2 separate regions of the Homo sapiens genome follow, and region 1 is linked to region 2. The links are contacts of gene promoters, found by promoter capture Hi-C in blood cells and fetal thymus (Javierre and others, 2016). All regions are on one chromosome and are shown on one strand. The core of a region is centred on a gene start or on the middle of the fragment in contact, and the rest is flanking DNA. Distances in the headings are between cores, read along the strand shown. Region 1 has its middle 29 kb from the start of NFKBIA. Region 2 holds the start of SNX6 (sorting nexin 6).

Region 1 (6,484 bases), core at 261-2,760, 800 kb after region 2:
TGGTTCCTCTTACTTCAATTTGAACCCATTTGAGTTTCTTCAGATAGATCCTGAAGTTACAGATGAAGAAATAAAAAAGAGGTTTCGGCAGTTATCCATCTTGGTGCATCCTGACAAAAATGAAGATGATGCTGACAGAGCACAAAAGGCTTTTGAAACTGTGGACAAAGCTTACAAGTTGCTACTGATCAGGAGCAAAAGAAGAGGGTCCTGGATGTAATTTAGGCAGGAAAAGAATACGTGGAACACACTGTGAAAGAGAGAAAAAAAAAAAACAATCAAAGAAGGAAGGAAAACCTACGATTGTAGAGGAGGATGATCCTGAGCTGTTCAAACAAGCTGTATATAAACAGAAAATGAAACTCTTTGCTCAGCTGGAAATTAAAAGGAAAGAGAGAGAAGCCAAAGAGATGCATGAAAGGAAACGGCAAAGGGAAGAAGAGATTGAAGCTCAAGAAAAAGCCAAACGAGAAAGAGAGTGGCAGAAAAACTTTGAGGAAGGTCGAGATGGTCGTGTGGACAGCTGGCGAAACTTCCAAGTCAATACAAAGGGGAAGAAAGAGAAGAAAAATCGGACCTTCCTGAGACCACCGAAAGTAAAAATGGAGCAGCATGAGTGACCACCCGGGGTCACAGGCACAGAACCTTCCCCCTGCTATCTCCCTTCCTGCTTCGAAGGACTCATTCTTTCCTCCCACTTCCACCTCAACATAGAGTAGTATTTGCTTTTTAGTCTGTTTCGTTTTGAATACAATTTAATATCGATCAGAGTAATTCTTTTGTACAATGAAATGAGGGGACTGGTTTAAAAAAAGACCTTCCTCCTCCCTGCCCCTAGAACAACCAGGATTGGAAGGTGGCACCATTGGTGCTGCCTTCTCTTCCCACAGCCTGTAACTCAGTGTTTTGTACTTCACTGAATTGTGATGGTTAGAAACTTCGTCCTAGTTTGTGGAAATCATCCAATTAAACATATTACTTAAAATGGTGTTGCTGTGACGTCAGAGACAGGCCTGGAAGGGGCACTTTGGAAGCCCCTTGGCTTCAGTTGCTCGCTTCTGGGTGTGCTCCCTTAGAAGGCCCAGATAAGACAGGGAACACCTGTGGGCACACAGAACAGGCACCTGATGCCCTGATGCCCTGTGGTGTTTGGCATGTGCCCCCTGTCTACTGACCAATCAGCATGGCATGAGGCCCACGCCACCCAAACCTTTCACTTTCCAAAGAGCTAGCCGTCCTCCTCCCAGTACCATGGTGTCCTAGCCTGTCTGCATTTGTTAGTAGTAATATTCTTTATGTATAATAAATTTTTATAACTACCCCCCCAAAAAAGTGGTAACTATTGTCATAGAGAAGCTTTGCTTTTTGTTGTTTTTTAATAATTTCAGCTTTTATTTTAGATTCAGGGAGTACACGTGCAGGTTTGTTACATGCGTACATTGCTTGATGTTGAGATGTGGAATACAAATGATCTTGTCACCCCGGATAGTGAGTATAGTACCCAGTAGGTAGTTTTTTAATTCTTGCTCCATTCCCCCCTCGCCGCTCTAGTAGTCCCCATATCTATTGTTTCCATCTTCATTTCCATGAGTTCCTAATGTTTAACTCCCACTTATAAGTGAGAACATGCCATATTTGGTTTTCTGTTCCTGCGTTAATTTGGAGAAGCTTTACATTTTTTTTTTTTTTGAGATGGAGTCTCGCTCTGTCACCAGGCTGGAGTGCAGGGGCTTGATCTTGGCTCACTGCTACCTCCACCTCCAGGGTTCAAGCGATTCTCCTGACTCAGCCTCCCAAGTAGCTGGGACTACAGGTGCATGCCACCATGTCTGGCTAATTTTTGTATTTTTAGTAGAGGCAGGGTTTCACCATGTTGGCCAGGATGGTCTAGACGTCTTGACCTCATGATCTACGCGCCTCGGCCTCCCAAAGTGCTGGGATTACTGGCGTGAGCCACCACGCCTGGCCGAAGCTTTACATTTTAATATAGTTTAATTTAATACGTGTGTTTGTTTTATGCTTTTCATCTTGTTTGTGTCCAGATGTCATAGAGAATCTTCTAATCTTCTAAATTGTCTTCTAATTACTTTAAATTTTCATTTTTCCCAATTAGGTGTTTAAACATTTAAAAATTAATCCAAGTATAGTAGTGCTTTTTTCTGACCCAGCTTGCTAAAGGGACAGGGCTCCTGACAACTTTAAAGAATCTGGATGGTCTACTAAAAGATAAATTCAAATAGTGTCATTTTAGGCACAGATTTGTTGTTGGGGGCGCGGTGTGAGAGTGGTGATGGGTAATATGTGCATGGTAACAACAACAATAAAAAATTTCAAGCCTCTTGCCATGTGGCCTGTTGTCCCAGCTACTTGGTGGGGGGTGGGGGGGGTGCTGAGGCAGGAGGATTGCTTAAGGCCAGGAGTTTGAGCCCTTGAATAACCACTGCATTCGGCCTGGGCAACATAATGAGACCCTTTCTCTTAAATCAAAACAATCAAACATCCAACAGGTTTACAATAATGAAAAACAAATTTATTTTAAGATTAATAGGGGAGAAGTTAGCACTGTGTTTTCTACAGTTTTTTAATTTATAGTGTTGGGGATTTTGTGACTTTTTGATTGACTGATTGAGACAGGCTTTGTCACCCAGACTGGAGTGCAGTGGCTCAATCATGGCTCAATGCAGACTTAACCTCACTTTTTGTAGAAACTGGGTTTCACTATGTTACCCAGGCTGGTCTTGAACTGCTGGCCTCAAGTGACCCACTCGCCTTGGCCTCCCAAAGTGCTGGAATTACAGGCGTGAGCTACTGAACCTGGCCCCTTGTGACCTTCTCTATTTTAGTGCATCATAGATGCCATTACATGTGGGTCCCATTCAACACGCAGGCTATGAAAACTGCACTATTTGAAAGTACATTGCTTGCAGATATGGGATTCTTAGTACAAATTCCAAGAAAATAGGGCTTGGGGGGTAATTTGTAGTTTACTGGGAAAGAGCCTTCCAATATTTTCAGCGGATCCCAGAAGATTCCCCATTCTAATCTTGTGGCTGGAACAATGCCGAGCACATAGTAAGTGCTTTATAAGTGTTGATTCACTGATTGATTATAGAAGGTGCTGAACTACCCAAACTTTTGACTTTGACATCTACCTAGAAGTGCTTGTCCTGCAGAGGAAAGCTGAGATCCTGGTATTAACGTATACTATAGAGCAATGATTTATCAAGTCTGCCCACCTGCTATTTTGAGTATTTAAAAATTGCAACAAACATGGTGCTTTGGAATGATTTATTAATGTACAATTTGTACATTAATATTGTTAGGCATGGATTTTAGTTCAACATACTTTGCATTAAGTTCAGTTCAAAGAGTATTTTTGTGAAATTACTGTGTGCTTCACTAACCTCTGAGGGCACAATGATGAGGGCACAATCTCTGCTTTAACTTAATCAGGATGATGCTCCCTCTCTGTATTATAAATATGGAAAACAAGGCCTATCTAATCTTAGTCCATATTTGTCTGGCAAAATTCTTACCTTATATTAAAAAAAACCACACAAAGTCTTTAATCGTATGTCTAAGCCCAAAACAATATTCCCAGTAGGCCTTATGGAATTGGGTAAAGGATTCAACAATAAGGGAAGCAATGTTTCAGAGGGCAGAAGTGAGATGCATGTTGGTTTATGGAACATGAAGGAAATAGTAGGAAGCCGTTATTAATCTAACTACACCATTCCCCATACAAAGCCTGGAAGGAGTCTCCCTGACTAGGAAGTGGTGTCGCGGGGCTCCCCTATCTACAGTTAAATGTGCTTGTGAAGGGTGTCTGTTGCCTTCTTTCTTCTCTAGTATGCACCAGCACCCTTCCACCCACCACTCAATTCTCCTTGTACTTTGGTTTTGCTTTGCCTGGCTCAATTCAGGGCTTTGCAATATAATGTCTAGAGGTTTAGTATTGTCACTGTAGAATCAAATGAGCCTGGAGGTTATTTGGTTTTAATTATCATTCACTGAAACAATCAATGTAGAGGATTTAGTCATTCAAATGGTTACCGGAGGGACATTTAGGTAATTGCAACTGTTGAATGTTCTCTCTTCTGCTAATTGTTTTTATTGAATGAGATTTATATCTAGGTATTAAAGAGAAGTTGTAGCTGTGAGTATCACAGGCCAACATTTTGGAAGGAAGTGGTGGGAAGGAGATCTGGGCCCTAAGCTTGGCCCTGCTTTTCATTTTTTTTTTTTTCATTTTTATTTTTTTGATACGAAGTCTCACTCTGTCGCTGGAGTGCAGTGGTGCGATCTTGACTCACTGCAACCTCTGCCTCCCGGGTTCAAGTGATTCTCCTGCCTCAGCCTCCCGAGTAGCTGGAATTACAGGTGCCCACCGGCATACCTGGCTAATTTTTTTTTTTTTTTTTTAATTTTTAGTAGAGATGGGGTTTTATCATGTTGGCCAGGCTGGTCTCAAACTCCCAACTTCAAGTGATCCGCTCGCCTCGGCCTCCCAAAGTGCTGAAATTACAGGCGTGAGCCACCGCACCCGGCCTTCACTCTTTTATAAATGCCTCACTTCTAGGTTTTCAAAATGTCATGTAAGTATACAGTCTAGTGTCTGTCATCACAAACATGTACATTTGGTCATGTCACTGTGCTTAGTTGCCATAACAGACACTTTTAAGATTATATAAAATAATATGCACTGCCCTAAATGGAATTTTCTGAGTGTAGTATTTTGATTGGGTTTTCAATTTCTTATGTAAGCACCTAAGGTTACCATTCTATTTAGTGCTCTTCAGGATGAAAAATATTTTGTCTTCCCACCTAGTTTCAGTGAATGAGGCCTGCAAATTTAACTGACTAAAGACAGATTAACAGGAAAAAAATGTATGATTTTTATTGATATTAATACTTTTAAATGCATGGAAGCTTCACAGAGATGATGTGAAAACTCAAAGACGTGCTCAGAACTTGAATTTTTTTTTTTGAGATAGTGTTTCACTCTGTCGCTCAGGCTGGAGCGCAGTGGCATAATCTCTGACTGCCAGGTTCAAGTGATTCTCCTGTCTCCATCTCCTGAGTAGATGGGACTACAGGCATGTGCCACCATGCCCCACTAATTTTTGAAATCCACCCGCCTCAGCCTCCCAAAGTGCTGGGATTACAGGTGTGAGCCACTGCACCTGGCCAGAACCTGGAGTTTGTATACCCTTCTTAAAAAAAGAAGATGGGTTTGGGCTTCAAGGGAAAATATTGTGGGAATTGACTAGGAAATATATGAAGGAAACTAATGGGAGATAAGGGTTATTTTAGTAGGGCTTGTTTATGAGGAGTCATCTTGGTGTGACATCTCTGGTAATGAGTCATTCTCAGTTTCCTGGCATAGAGGAGTACCTTCCTCAAAGGAAAATTTATGTCCTGTTTTTAGGCAGATAAAGGGAGGGCAGAGACCTTTTCCTCCATCAGTTGCCTTCAGCTCAAAATAATCCTTATGCCAAAGTGGCATATTTTGGGATGGCATATCCTGATCTCTTTCAGTAGCATCTCCCCATTTTTAGAAAGAAAGAAATGGAAGTATAGTAAGATTAGAGGATTTGGCTCTATTCACATGGCAAATTAGTGGCTTAGCTGGAACCAGAATCCCAATCTTCTGATCATGAGTCTTATAATTACTTTTATTATCTGAAGGTCAGGACCCAGCAGATGCTTTGGTTGGCAACAGAAGCATCAGGGTACACAGACTTTAGTAACCAATTCCTCCTAGACAAATGAGTGTTTACATTTTCAGTCTCAATGAAGGTTAAATTTTAGCATCTAACTACGTTGAAGAAGCGTTTGTACATGTTCTCCTTTTTCTTTATTAAGGAAATGTACACACACACAAAACCTTTACAATCCCATGATTCTGAAATAATGCAATTCCCACTGAAATAGTTATTTTGAGTTATCTTTGAAAGGAATTTTTTACTGGCTCAGTTATTTGTTCTCAGATAATTAGACCTCTTTCTCTACTTTTCAAGTGATTTAGTATCTTTTTTTCTGGATATGAAAGTTCTAAGTCCTCTGTTTATTAAAATTTCCAACATTACAGATATATACAACATGGTTATTAACAATATACTGTGTCTATCACACTCAGAGATAATCACTGCCAATTACTTAGTGTATTTCTCTCTAGGTTTTTTTCTATGTACATACTAAAAATATTTTTTTCACACAAAAATGGGATCATGTTATTCATACTGTTTTTTAAAACTTGAAGTAAAATCTATACAACATAAAATTTATCATTTTAGCCATTTTAAACTGTACAATTCAGTGTCTTTTAGTATAGCCACAATGTTATGCAACCAATTACCACTATTTAATTCCAGAATATTTTTGTCACCCCATAAACACCACCATACCCTATTCATACAGCTTGGCATCTTACTTTCTTACTTAATGCAACCTTCTACGTGAAGATATGTCACATTCTATTTCA
Region 2 (6,115 bases), core at 726-3,225:
AAACAGGCCGGGCGTGGTGGCTCACGCCTATAATCCCAGCACTTTGGGAGGCCGGGGTGGGTAGATCACGAGGTCTGGAAATCGAGACCATCCTGGCTAACATGATGAAACCCCGTCTCTACTAAAAATACAAAAAATTAGCCGGGCGTGGTGGCGGGCGCCTGTAGTCCCAGCTACTCGGGAGGCTGAGGCAGGAGAATGGCGTGAACCCGGGAGGCGGAGCTTGCAGTGAGCCAAGATAGCGCTACTGCACTCCAGTCTGGGTGACAGAGCAAGACTCCGTCTCAAAAAGCCAACAAACAAAAACCCAGCTAGGCATGGTGGCCCGTGCCAGTAGTCCCAGCTACTTGGGAGGCTGAGGTGGGAGGATCACTTAAGCCCAGGAGGTCAAGGCTGCAGTGAGCTATAACCATGCCACTGCACTCCAGCCTGGGCAACAAAGGGAGATACTGTCTCATAAAACCAAATAAATAAATAAAAGTTTTATAAAAGTCATCAGTTCATACTAACTACCTCATCTGTTATTACAAACAGCAATAACATCCCACAATATTTTATCACCTACCAAATATGCACTAACAGATGTCTCTCTCACATTAAAACGGATAAGAAAAAGCAAAAGGGAAAACTGAAGTGCAGGCTGTGAAATGTGAAGGAACCATGGAACCTTGCTGAATGGTAATTATCATATATCAACATTTTCCAAGTGCTCACTTGTACAAGGGACTATAAAGATTACCACCCTTCAGCCAAGGAAAAAGGGGGTGGAGAGTGGGGTGGGAGGGAGGAATCAGAGCCCGGAAGGCTCTTTCTGAAGTAGAATGCAACTAACCTCAGAACACCAAGGGCAGAATGGAGGTTATCAAAGGCCTGGCGGAGTGTGTATGTGGGGGGTGAGTGGGTGGAGCGTCGATGTTGGTCAAAGGGTACATACTTGAAATTTGCTTAGATCTCAAATGTTCTCACACAAAAAAAAATGGTAACTAGGTGAGGTGATGGATATGTCAGGTTGATTTTGGTACTCATTTCACAATGTATTCGTGTATTAAAATATAATGTATACCTTAAGTATATACAATTATCAACAGTATTTGTCAATATACCTCAAAGAAGCTAAGGGGGAATAAAACACCAAGGAAATCCTGCCAAAGACAGGATTTGTTGGATATTAGAAAAAGTAAAGATACCATGGGCTACCTGCACTTTGCATAATCTAGTAGGGCACTGGACAGGAGTTGATTCGGCTACTATAAAAATCCTTGCAAAATGGTAATGTAGACTACACCTGTACTATTTGAGAGAGACAGAAGGGTGGGCGGGAGCAAGTTCGAGATGTCCACACCGGGTGAAAATTGAGGGTGCCGCTGGGAAGGTCCGAGAATGGGTTTTCATGGCCCCAAAGTGTCGAGGGAGGGTGGGGGCGTTCCATCTCCCGCCTCCATTTCCACTTCGCCACCTGCACCCCGCCCCGCGTGGGAGTGGAGGTCCACCAGAAGGCCCGAACAGCGGCGGGGGACAAGAAAGCGGCCGCGGGTCCCCGGGAATCGGAGCCGAGCGGCCCCTAGGGAGGAAGGGCTGCGGGAGGGTGGGGCGCGGTGCAGCGAGGAAACCGAAAGGAGGACTACGGGGAGGGAGTGCCGCGCGGCTGGGGACCCATCCCCGTACCACACCCGGGGACCCAGGATGGGGAAGGAGGGTCCAGGGTCCCGCGAGCGAAAGGAAGGCAGAACTTACTCCGCGGTCCTCTTCTGAGAGGAAGTCCGGGCCGTCGTCCAGGCCTTCCTGTGGGGTCGGCGGGCACGGCGCGCCGGGGAAAAGGATGAGATGGGGGAGACACAAAGGGAGACATTAGTGACAGGCTGGCGCGGTCCCCGCGCCCGCCCCGCGCCCGCTGCCCCCACCGCGCTCCCGGGACTCGGCGCCGCGGAGAACACCCACCATCATGGCTGCTCCGAGGCGAGGGCCGGCGCAGGCGCGCATCTCCCTGCTGCCGGAGGGAGCCGGCGGCCAGGAGCGGGGCGGGGCGGGGCGGAGGCGAAGGGGCGGGGCCTAAGGACGGCCCGCCCCGTCCCCGGCGCTGGTCGCTCGAGTCCGTGAGCGAGGAAGGTTAACAGGGCCTTCTGCCCAAGGTCAAGGCACCGAAGTCGGGAGAGCCTGAAGACCCAGACCTCATGGCTGGGGGCACCTCGCAGCTGGCGGGCTCTGACCAGGGAAGGGCCAAAGGCCACCCAGGGAGCTCTCCAGTTCCCCTGCCCCGAGGGCTCCAGCGAAAAACGATGCAGGCGCCCTCCGGAAGCCATAATACATCATCTGGTCTTTGTATTATGCCACACGATAATTAATCACAATTAATATCATTTTGCCTATGGAAGTTGCTGGAAACAAGGACCTTCACACAGTCGGTAATCAGGGACTATAATCAAGCTTTTACCGCTGGCGAGGTAATAACTACCTCAGAGTTTGGGGCACTAATGGTTGCGAACTATAAAAATGAGCTGTTTTCATTACAAAAATATTCCTTTCCTTTGTTAGAAGAAATTTCCCCACACCTACTCTAACTGTCCAGGTGGTTAGCATCACACGGGATCCACAGGCATTTCAAATAACGGGAGAAAATCATACTTAATCCTAGAATCTACACGTTCCTGAGCTTGCATTCAGTTAAGGAAAGGCATCTTCAGATGTTCAGACCAGAAACCCTTAACCCATTGAAATCCGTACTCTAGGGGCCGGGCGCTGTGGCTCACGTCTCTAATTCCAGCACTTTGGGAGGCCAAGGCGGGCGGATCACCTGAGGTCAGGAGTTTGAGACCATCCTGGCTAACATGGTGAAACCCCGTCTCTACTAAAAATACAAAAATTAGCCGGGCGTGGTGGCGCGTGCCTGTAATCTCAGCTACTTGGGAGGCTGAAGCAAAAGAATCGCTTGAACCTGGAAGGCAGAGGTTGCAGTGAGCCGAGATTGCACCACTGCACTCCAGCCTGGGCAACAGAGCAAGACTCTGTCTCAAAAAAAGAAAGAAATAAATCCTTATCTCCCTTACTCCTCATATCCAACCAAATCCTATGGCTTCTACAATTGATTGTCCTTCATACCTCTTTTTTTTTTTTTTTTGAGACAGAGTCTCGCTCTGTCGCCCAGGCTGGAGTGCAGTGGTGCGATCTCGGCTCACTGTAAGCTCCACCTCCAGGGTTCACGCCATTCTCCTGCCTCAGCCTCCCGAGTAGCTGGGACTACAGGTGTGTGCCACCACACCCGGCTAATTTTTTTGTATTTTTAGTAGGACAGGATTTCACCATGTTAGCCAGGAAGGTCTTGATCTCCTGACCTCATGATCCGCCCGCCTCGACCTCCCAAAGTGCTGGGATTACAGGTGTGAGCCACTGCGCCCAGCCCATACCTCTTTAATTAGTCCAATTTTTCCAGTTCTCACAGCAATTACCATCAACTCTCGTCTACACCTTTGCAATACTCTCCTGACTCCACTATTTTCCATCACTTTATCCTATTTTACACACTGCTGCCAGTTTTCCTCCTAAAACACAGATATTGATGATTATGCTACTACCCTGTTCAGTAATCTTTACAAGCCCCCATTACATAACGATTCAATTCCTCAGCCTACGATTTCAAGCCTTCTACATTTGAATCCCTCTCTACTCTGCCAGGCCCTCCATCCTATTTTATTGAAGTGAAGCTCTCAAAACAATATTAAACTTAACTGATATTTTGGCCGGACGCAGTGGCTCACACCTGTAATCCCAGCACTTTGGGAGGCCAAGGGGGGCAGATCATCTGAGGTCAGGAGTTCAAGACGAGCCTGGCCAACATGGTGAAACCTCATCTCTACTAAAAATACAAAAATTAGCTGGGTGAGGTGGTGCGCACCTGTAATCCCAGCTACTCGGGAGGCCAAGGCAGGAGAATTGCTTGAACTCGGGAGGCAGAGGTTGCAGTGAGCCAAGATCATGCCACCACACTCCAGCCTGGGTGACAGAGACTGCGTCTCAAAAAGAAAATAATAAATAAAAATTAAAAATTTAAAAAAACCACTTAACTGATATTTTCATAAGAACTTCTTGTAGCTTTCATTTTGTATGTAAGGAGAACTGAAGTATAGAGAGGTTAAGTTACTGCTCCAACAAAGGTTACTCTACGAAATGGGGGGCGGGGAAGGGACTTTATTTTTTGTCTTTTGTTTCTTGTTTCCCAGCGCATTGTGGTGACTACTAAAGTAGTCTTTTTCACTGGGAGTCATGAGGCATCATGTGGTGTCATTGTAGTGTGATGAAGTGTCGGGAGGAATGTTCCAGTAATTTGTTACCTACTAAAAGTGCCACTATTTCCTATTGGTTTGTTTTTAGATTAAAGGTAATGTCTGCAAAGCTCTTCCTAGGTGGAGAGAGAGGAGTGGAGCCACAATAAATGAGAGGGATTTACATACAACTGATAGGAAGGCCAAGTGCGTCCTTGTGGACAAAGGTTGAGAAGTGCCACAGAGAACCACCTGAAATGCCTCCTATCATTAACCAAGAGTTTTAAATTTCAGCATTTAAATAAAGTCCAGCCTGGGCGTGGTGACTCACCCCTGTAATCCTAGCACATTGGGAGGCTGAGGTGGGAAGACTGCTTGAGCCTAGGTGTTGAAGACCAGCCTGGGCAACATGGCAAAACCCTATCTCTACAAAAAATACAAAAATTAGCCGGGTATGGTGGCACACACCTGTGGTCCCTGCTACTTGGGAGGCTGAGGTGAGAGGATCACTTGATCCCAGGGAGGCTGAGGCTGCAGTGAGCCATATCGAACCACTGCACTCCAGCCTGGGCAACAGAGTGAGACCCTATCTAAAAAAAAAAAGAAAAAAATATTAAACAAAGTCCAGAAACATTGTAATTCCCAAATGCCAAAACTTTAAAATCATTAGTTATGAAAAAAAGAGGTAGGATCTAAAATATAAGCAACTCAACTAAAATTATCAACAAAGGCATGGTAATTACTGCAGCCATAATTCATAGCTGAAAACTCACATGAGTACAGAACCCAATCTTGAAACGATAAACTTGTTAATTAATATCAGCGCTTTCCTTTCTGAGCAAAGGTCTCCAGCTATATTTTGTGAATGATAAAAAGGAATTGTCAGTAACTGATTCTAACAACTGTCAAAAGGCCAAGTTATAGAAATTAAGGAATTTCAGAAGAAAAGAAGTTAAGAAAAGTTTACATGACAGATTTTTCTGCTACTGATAAAATAAAGAAGATATTAAAGGTGAACCACTCTTCTAATATTTGTAACCAAATAATCAATTTTTCATTTTGTTTTGATAGATTTCTATGAAATTATCTACTTCTATACAAATGTAATGAACTAATTATGCTGAATTGCTGTCTGATTACTTAATAGATTTAGCTAAAGTAAAATGTTGATTGTGAATAGTTAATAGTGTGCTTCAAAAACAAATGTATTGAAAGATTTTAGAGAAGAGTAAAATTTTAGAGAATAATGAATGTTATTTTTAAATTTTAAAAATAAAAAATAGTATTTGCTTTCAACATTTTTGTCAAAAATCAAGGTTTTTCTAGAAAAAAATTTTAATATAAAATGACAATTATTTAATTATAGAAGAAAAATGTTTAATTCCTTTCCTTTTATTATGTTCTGATCAAAGAAGATTTCACCAAAACATATTTTTGCCAATTTCTCACTTCCTCAAATTCTAGAAGATCCCTTTTTGTTTTAGATAACCCGTGGATCCTAATTTTTTCCTCCTACTCCACAGGAGTTATGCTACAGCAAAATTCTCTATAGGAAGATTGCTGAACTCTGTTATTTCCAAGATGTGCTGTATCAATCAGGATGCCTTTAGCTGCAAGTAACAGATAACATCAATTCAAATAAACTTGAGCAGTAAGGAAACTTATTATTTTACCACCACCACCACAACAACAACAAAATCAAGAAACTAGGTGTTTCTGGGCATAGTACAACCAGTGGGTAATGGTGTCATCAAGAACCTAGATTTCTTCCAACTCTCCACTCTGCCACCTTCAGTAACAACCTCATTCCAAGGCTGGTTCTCTTCATGATCCAAGATTACTTCAGTATTTCTAGGTTT

Evidence for each region. Contacts are between HindIII fragments. The CHiCAGO score rates a contact against its expected background, and 5 or more counts as called.
Region 1: a fragment that was not itself captured here is called in contact with the fragment with the promoter of SNX6 in region 2 in 4 of 17 cell types (total B cells, fetal thymus, neutrophils and 1 more); the score reaches 7.1 in total B cells.

Annotation. Positions count from the first base shown.
Region 1 is chr14:35,430,012-35,436,495 of GRCh38, forward strand. It overlaps the pseudogene DNAJC8P1. Among named protein-coding and RNA genes, the nearest start is that of NFKBIA, 29 kb to the left of the region's middle. The HindIII fragment of the contact is 312 bases long and covers 1,355-1,666 here.
Region 2 is chr14:34,628,173-34,634,287 of GRCh38, forward strand. It overlaps SNX6 (sorting nexin 6), which reads right to left and starts at 1,976. Exons shown (of 14, transcript NM_152233.4): 1 at 1,939-1,976; 2 at 1,735-1,782. The coding sequence starts at 1,944. RefSeq lists a silencer at 1,730-2,079 and an enhancer at 2,250-2,299. The HindIII fragment of the contact is 3,459 bases long and covers 1-2,422 here.